Linked DNA regions of Homo sapiens: region 1 is linked to region 2. The links are contacts of gene promoters, found by promoter capture Hi-C in blood cells and fetal thymus (Javierre and others, 2016). All regions are on one chromosome and are shown on one strand. The core of a region is centred on a gene start or on the middle of the fragment in contact, and the rest is flanking DNA. Distances in the headings are between cores, read along the strand shown.

What was found. Contacts are between HindIII fragments. The CHiCAGO score rates a contact against its expected background, and 5 or more counts as called.
Region 1: a contact is called between a fragment that was not itself captured here and the fragment with the promoter of ADCY1 in region 2, in 1 of 17 cell types (M1 macrophages). The highest score is 7.7, in M1 macrophages.

The regions. Positions count from the first base shown.
Region 1 is chr7:45,293,828-45,297,811 of GRCh38, reverse strand. No RefSeq gene overlaps it. Among named protein-coding and RNA genes, the nearest start is that of RAMP3, 140 kb to the right of the region's middle. The HindIII fragment of the contact is 191 bases long and covers 2,319-2,509 here.
Region 2 is chr7:45,572,163-45,576,184 of GRCh38, reverse strand. ADCY1 (adenylate cyclase 1) reads right to left here and starts at 1,817. Exons shown (of 20, transcript NM_021116.4): 1 at 1,003-1,817. The coding sequence starts at 1,641. RefSeq lists a silencer at 1,332-1,431 and an enhancer at 2,243-2,803. The HindIII fragment of the contact is 15,544 bases long and covers 1-4,022 here.

The DNA of each region.
Region 1 (3,984 bases), core at 1,165-3,664, 280 kb after region 2:
GACAGGCTAAAGCCTACAACCACAATTCTTTCAGGATAAGGTCTATGTTGCTCCCTCTGGCCTTGTTAACCTGCACCAGGAATGTGGGCTGCTATCCTCATAACCTCTGCCAGTCTGGGACGTGGAGGACGATAGGCATGCAATTTGAAGTGCAGCTGGCTGCTTTTTTTTTTTGACAAAGTCTCACTCTGTCATCCAGGCTAGAGTGCAGTGACTCACTTATAGCTCACTATACCTTAAACTCCTGGGCTCAAGTGATCCTCCTGCCTCAGCCTCCTGAGTAGCTAGGGCTACAGGTGCATGCCACCACACACAGCTAATTTTAAAAAAAAAATTTGTAGAGCCGAGGTCTCCCTTTGTTGCCTAGGCTAATCTTACACTCCTGGCTTCAAGCAGTCCTCCCACTTCTGCCTCCCAAAGTGCTGGGACTACAGGTGTGAGCTGCCACACCCAGACACTGCTTCTTTCTTTACCAAGCCTTCCAAATTTTTTCACTAGATTCCAGAGTTCTGCCAACACTGTTTCTGACATTCTGACTAGCTCATTAGTTGATTTTCTGGAGGGACAGAGCCCTGAAGTCCCCAACTTTGCCATTTTTCTGTGATATCCTCTGCTCTCTTTTTTGTATTGCTTTTTCTCTCTGGCCCATGCAGTCCTGGAGCTGGCTGCTTCTTCCAGCAGAGTAATGAGATGTGGAGGTCCAAGTCTCCAGTGTGAGCTTAAAGGAGAGGGGTGGAGATTGTCCTGGGTCATAGTCCCAGGCTACATCCAACCTGGAGAATAGGAGACCAACTCACTATAAAACTACATTAGTTTAGGACAAAACCCCAGGAAGCAATAAAGAGATTCTTCTTCTGTTTTTGCTGACTGTGCATATCTCCCCTGGCAACCTCCTGGGAGGTGGAAGTTGGCTGAAGACAAAGCTTGGGTGAATCTACTCCCAGCTACCATCTTAATACCTTGGGAATATAAAAATGACCCTTTCCCTGGCACAGGACTCTACAGTTGTCCTGATCAGTGTCCCTGATCTTCTTTTACTTTCACAATGGTACTGGGATGTCACACAGTACAGAGGAGAAAACTCAAGCTCAGGGAGCACCAGAAACTTTCTCAAGGCTCTGACAGGTGAATTATAGGGCCAGGGCACTACCTCAGGCAGCACTCAGCTCCTCCCATTGTCCTTGAGCCCCATTGCACGCTCCCATAAAACCCCAGCTTTCTCTCTAGAAACCCTGGAAGACTCTCCTAAAGAGTGGACACCCCATCCTCTGCCTGCTCCCACCAGCAATGTGTTCTCATCAACAGAACAGCTAATAGACCAACCAATTGGAAGCTTAAACCCCTTTCAGGGATGTTTCCTCCTAGGCAGGCATTGAGGAGACAAGGAGAAGAAAGAGGTTGATGGGTTGATGTGTCCAGAAGCTTTGGGTTTTCTTTTCTTTTCTTTTTGAGATGGAGTCTCGCTCTGTTGCCAGGCTGGAGTTCAGTGGCGCAATCCCGGTTCAATGCAACCTCTGCCTCCCGGGTTCAAGCGATTCTCCTGCCTCAGCCTCCTGAGTAGCTGGGACTACAGGTGCACACCACCATGCCCAGCTAATTTTTGTAGTATTAGTAGAGACTAGGTTTCACCTTGTTGGCCAGGATGGTCTTGATCTCTTGACCTTGTGATCCGCATACCTTGGCCTCCCAAAGTGCTGGGATGGGTTTTCTTTTTTGTCTGTCTCATCAGTCCTCGCTCCTCCTGATTTACATCTCCCAGACACAGTGCTGCCCAGAATGATGCACAACACCCCCATGGAGTCTGCCTTGTATAAGACACAGGCTTCTCTTAAAGCTGCATCCCACTGGCCTAACACTTTTCTCTAACAGCAAGTCTTTTCACACTTTCTGAAGCCAAATGGTCCCAATCAAAGTCCTCAAAGTTTTCCCTCACAGATTTTATCCTGAGATATTTGTCCAGGTTGGCAAGATAATTTTAGATTTTGACTCTAAATAAATGGTCTTTCACCATGTTATCTGCAGATTTCATGAATCCCCTTGCTATGATAAACACGCTAATCAAGACGCGGGCTGGGACAGAGCCTGGTGGCCATCAGAGACTTCCCTCTAGGCCAACAGATTCACTAGTTAGTGCCCAGTGGAGATGCACACCGGACATTCTAGAGACCTGAGATGCGTGGGGACCAGAGCAAAGCTGCACTGGGACTACAGCAAAGCTGCTTTGATCCCACATTTTTGGTCTTCCTATCTTTCAGGAAAGACCAGAACAGCCTGCTTTAAAAACATTAATGAGGTAAAGGGATTATTAATTCAAAGCTTATTAAAGCCATATGTAGCTGCATGCATTCTAAGTCAAAATAAACTGCAATGTCCTGCTGATTTCTCTTGCGTCATGTCACCGGCTTATAGCAAGGGGAAGCCATGTGGAGCTGTGCTAATTACCAGGACCATATGCTGCGGGAAAATCAGGAGGTGTTATTAAAATGCCTCTTGGACTACTGCTCAAGCTTATGAGATTCTCTTCTTCCAGGACTGCAACTTGGTATTTGTTGATATTTGAGTAATGAGGCTGTCCGCACATATTTTTAGGTTTCCCTTTCACCGGGCAGTCTCCAAATACATTCCGTGGGCTGAGCTCTGTGCTATGTCTGAGCAGGGATCCCACCATCAACCACATGCAGCTTCAGCTCCTGAAGCTTTTCCTGCAATGTGAGTTCCCCAAACGGTTAACAAATATCAAACACACTTGCTTAGTATACGCTGGTTTAACAAATATCTATGGTGCATCCACTAGGTACAAAGCACTGTCCCAGGTGCAACAACCTTGGAAATAAGGTAAGTGACCACCATGCTTCTGGGAACCCCTCAGTTTGTAAGTCTTCCTTACCTTCCATGTTCTTTGCCTGCACTCTGCACTGTTTCCACAAGAACATTGTTTCAGGATTAACAAAGGATTCACCTAAGACACTCCTATGGAGTTTCCTCAGGAAACTTGGAATGACATGTAAAGCCACTGCAACAACACTGAACGCACTGGCCTTGCTGCCAGGAACACTGTCACCATCGCTGGGGACACAGCCAGGCCACATGCCAGGGACTATCACAGACACCATTAAATGTCACCATGCCCTGTGAAATGTTACAAGGGTCTCTATTTAACTGAGACTCAGAGAAGTTAAATAGCCGGGCTCCGGGTCACCCATGTTGGGAGGGTCAGAGGGGGCATACCAAAGAGCCCATCTACACACACTTTCCCCTGTACTGCCAACGTTTTTCATAAGCTCAATTCATAAAGACCTTTGACTTCCCAACTTGAGGCACATCGTGTAAAAGCACACATGATACCACCCAGCTCCAGGCTCACACACACATGTGCAAGGGGGAATGTGGCCTCTCTAAATGCCAGGAGCCTTTGATCTGAGGGTATCTCCCTCCCATGCCCTGCACAGTGCTCCCCCAGCTTGCAGCTTAACTGGGCTTCCCCATCAGCCCCTTCACACCCCCATGAGCCATGGGCTAGGAGGCTGCAGGTGCCACCTGCCCCCGCTACTGGCACCACAGCGCTAGCAGTCCGCCTTGCTCTCCTTGCAGTGCCTGCCCTCTGCTTCCCACTCCCTGATCTACTGTGGCTAGTCCCATCCTCCACCAGGCACTGATTCCCTGGACCCCCAACTCACATGGCCTCTCCCGCCCTACGGCTCCACACTTGGCTTCTCATGGTTTCCTACCACAGCAAGTAGGAGGGTTAGTTTTATGTCAACTTGGCTGAGCCACAGTACCCAAATATTTGGTCAAAAGCCAGTCTAGATGTTGTGTGGCTGTTTTTTAAATGAGATTAACATTGAAATCAGCAGACTTTGAGTAAAGCAGTCCACCCTCCATAATGTGGTGGGCTTCATCCAATCAGTTGAGGCCTTAGAGAAAAGACTGAGGTCCCCCAGGAAGAGGAAACTCTTCCTCCAGGCTGCGTTTGGCCTCAAAAGT
Region 2 (4,022 bases), core at 568-3,067:
GTTTGCTCCCACCACTGCTTCCTTTCGTGAGATGGGCTCCCCCACTCCATTTGAGTCATACCATCCCCCTGCTAAACTGCAGCTAGAGGCAGAAACAAAACCCTCCTCAGGGTCTTCCAAATCTCCCCACCCCCCAACTCCCCAGCCCCATCCCTGCGGCCCGTTGGAGATGGGCACAAGGGGAAGCTCTCAAAGCCCCGCCGTGGGGCAAAGACCTCTGGTCCACGTCCACCTCCGGGCAGTTGGAAGAGCAGGCTCCTCCAGGGCCCAGGAAGAGTCCGCGGGAGGCAGACAGCGTCCCCGTCCTTGCAACCATCTCGCCCGCCCGACTGGGAAGACAGTGACAAAGTTCGGGCGCAGAAAAGGCAGGGTCAGGGCAACCGCCGAGTGGCAGCGGCAGGGACTAGACTGTGTTTGACCTTGGCAAACCCCACTCTTTCTGGGCCGGAGGCATGTCCACAGAAGGGTGGCCAGCAAGGCTGGAAGAGCCGAAGTCCTTTCCCACCACCCATATACCACCCTCGGGTCCGCAGGGTTGGGAGGCGAGCCCAGCACGCGCTCTAGGTGCGCAGGGGAAGAGCCCAGCGCTGCGCGCAGAGCCGGCCTTGGAGCTTGCCCTGGGGGTCTGCTCTCCTCGCCCACTTTCAGTCCCTCTGTGGGGATGGGTGCGGCAAAAGACCGGCGGACCCCTCTGGCCGCCGTCTGGCCGCTCATCAGCTCCCTGACCTTGGCCAAACCTTTCTCTCTCCACACCTGTCTCCCCTCTCCACACTTCACGCCAGGGGCGCTTCGTGGATTGTAACTCTGAAGAGAGCCCTGGCCGGAGGGTGCCAGCCCCGACTGCGTCCCCAACTCGTAGGAGTGACCTTGAACACACCCCCACTCGGAGCCTCAGTGTCCCCACCCGCCGCATAGGAAAAAGCGCGCCCGACTCCGGGCATTCCCAGCATCGTCCCAGCAAGTGTGTCCGAGACCAGATGAGGGGTGCGCGGCTGCACTTACCGTCCTCCAGAGACGTGGGCGCTTGGCGGGGACCAAGGTGGCTGTGACCAGCAAGTGCGACGCAGCCACCACGAGCCCAAAGCCTATGGCCAGCAGGCTGCGCACGGGCAGCAAGGCATAGGACACGAAGGTGACCAAAAGGAGCTGCCAAACCCCTTGTTCGGCGGTCGCTGGCCCCCCAGCGGCCCCGGCGGAACCCCGGGCGGGGCCGCCCAGCGCGAAAGGACAGCAGAGCAGCGCGAAGGTGAGGCTGAAGAGCAGCGCCAGCTGGCCGACCTGCTGCAGCTGGGGCACCTGCAGGGACCGGACGTTGGTTACCACGAGCAGCGCCAGGAAGAGGACGCAGTGCACCGGGTGTGAGCCCTTGGCCAGGCCGGGCGCGGGCCCCGGCGCGCCCAGCAGCTCGGCCAGCGCCAGCGCGCCCGCCAGCAGGCTGAGAACGGCCAGCGCCTTCAGCGTGGCCGCCTGCTCCAGCCGCAGCGTGTAGCCGCGGAACAGCGCCTCCAGCTCTGGGCAAGCGAACTCCTCGTCGCACGCCCGGAGCCCGCGCCGGCGGCTTGTCCCGGCCGCCCGCTCGGCGCCCCCGGGCTCGCCCGCGCCGCCTCCGCCGCCGCCTCCGCCGCGCGGCGCCCCCGCCATCTCAGCGCCATGCAGCGGCCGCGGCCGCGGGCGCGCCCCTCGCCGGCCCGGGGCGCCGGGGCGCGGGCGGCGGCGCCGGGGCGGGCGGGCGGCGGGCGGCGAGGCGCCGGGGCGCGGGGCGCGGGGCGGGCGGAGTTGGGGCGCCGGCTGCCCCGCGCGCGCGCCCGGAGCGCGTCCCCTCCCGCCCGCCGCGCCTGCGCACTGGAGCCCGCCCGCGCCCCGACCGTGGTCCTCGGCGGCGACCGCGCTGCGACAGCCGAGCCCCGGGAGCCGCGAACCTGGGCGCGCACAGCCCGCGCCCCAACTCCGCGTCCTGCGTTCCCGCCCGCCGGAGGAGCCGCGTGACCTCGAGTACCTTCCTTGTCCCCTCCGAGCCTCAGTTTCCCCACCGTGCACAGTGGAACCCACCCTCTTGGCGTCACCTGGGGAGTCGAAAATACTGAAATCCTGCGAAATTCCCTGTTGCGGGGCAGTTAATCTTGGAAAATATGTGCCTTCCCCCACTCAATAAAACCAGGCCACTAGATTTGAGAGGGGCCCGCGTCTGACTGCGAACCCAGGGCCCTCGCCCCTACGAGACGGAGAATCGACGTCCAAGAATCCCCGGGGTCAGGAGGAAGGTGGAGGCCTGGGGCGTACGTCCCTTCCATGCGCATGAGGGACCCCCCGCCCCTCGGCAATTCTTCCCTAAGCTCTAGGGTCGCGGAGACCCTGTGGGCGGGTGCGGGCTGCGGGAGCTGTGCTGGGGAGGCGGCGGTGGTGAAGTCCAAGAAACAAAGTCCTGGGAGTCGGCCCGAGGGATTCCTCCTGGGTACTGAACTGAACCAGGATGGGCTCCTGGCAGTGCTGTGTCCCGGGAAGAAGGTGTGAGGCTGTAGGTGCAGAAATGGGGCAAGAGATGAAAGGAAAAGGGGCGCTGCTGTTTGCCTTAACGATTAGCTGGATACCCGAGAGAGAGCGAAACGTTTTCTTCTAGCAGGACAATTGGGAGGGAAGGACGCTGGCCCATGGGGGTTAAAACCCGCGAGTCGAATTCCACTGCTTACATTCATTCACTATGAGGGAGACAACTTTGTGCTGGTGCTTCAAGTACATGATGTCATTTGGTGCTCAGACGGCCCCTGGGCTGCCTGCATCCCCCTTACAGTGAGGATCTCTCATGATCAGCTCCCTCCAGGAGGCCTAGAGAGGAGTAGCCACTGCAAGAACCCCTGCCTCCTCCGTTATCCCGGCTGCTTCTCGTCCCCTCAATATGGATAGACCAGGAACTGGGATCCCATGAAATAATGGAGACCAGGAGGCTAGGCCCCCTGCAGAAGGCCCCACTCCCAGAAACCAGGATTTAAGGGATCTCGCCCAGGCATTGGTCTATTTTAGAAATGCCCCAGGGATTCCATTAACTCTCAGGGATTCCACGTGTTGTTATACGGAACAAAGGTTAGAATTTGAGGCATTTCCATTTTATCTGGAATTGGTATCAGGTTGAACCATACAAAATTGCCGTTTTTGTAAAAGGGCCAAAGTTGTCACATGTCAGCTCTTTCATATGCTTCAACTTAATAGTTGCAGATGATGACACCTCTAGGCTTTGTCTAGAGTAGGGGCACTTTCCCATCCCATGTCCCCAGTAGCTCACACCAAAGGCCCCCAGCAGACACTTGATGACAGCTGGTCCCTCCTCCTGGAATAGCATCCCCAACAGAACATCCTTTCTGAAACCTTTCTGGCTCCTTCTGGCACAGCTCGTTGCTTTCTCCCCAGTCCCAGTCTTCCGTGAAAATTCATACCCACCACTCTGTAGCCTCATTTTCTGTTCATTTGCCTTCCTCCCCTCTTTGAGCTGAAGCCCTCAGAGGGCAGCACTGGCTCTGAAAAGATGGCATGGCCCAACCTCTGTCACTGACTTGAGAAAGCACCTTCTTCTATCCACTAGTCCCCTGCTTATCCCCAAATAGGAGCAAAGTCTGCAAGATTTTTCTTTTCAAGTGTTAAGATTGAAGTGAAGATTTTCTTGTTAACTGGTGTGGTATATTTTTGGATCCTAACAATTTATTAAAGAAAAGCTGAATAATATCCAAAAAGGATCAAACTACATGAAAATGAAAAAGTATGATAAAGTTAATCTGGGTGCAAAGTTTACAAATAAATGGCACCTTCTTTTACCTGTTTTGGCTCTCAACTTTGTCCTCACTCAAAAAATGACATTCAGACAGGTGCAGTGGCTCATGCCTGTAATCTCCGCACTTTGGGAGGCCAAGGCAGGGGGATCACTTGAGTCCAGGAACATGAGAGCAGCCTGAGCAACATAAGGAAGCCTCATCTCAACAAAAATTTAAAAATTAGCTGAAAGTGATGGTACATATCTTTAGTCCCAGCGGCAA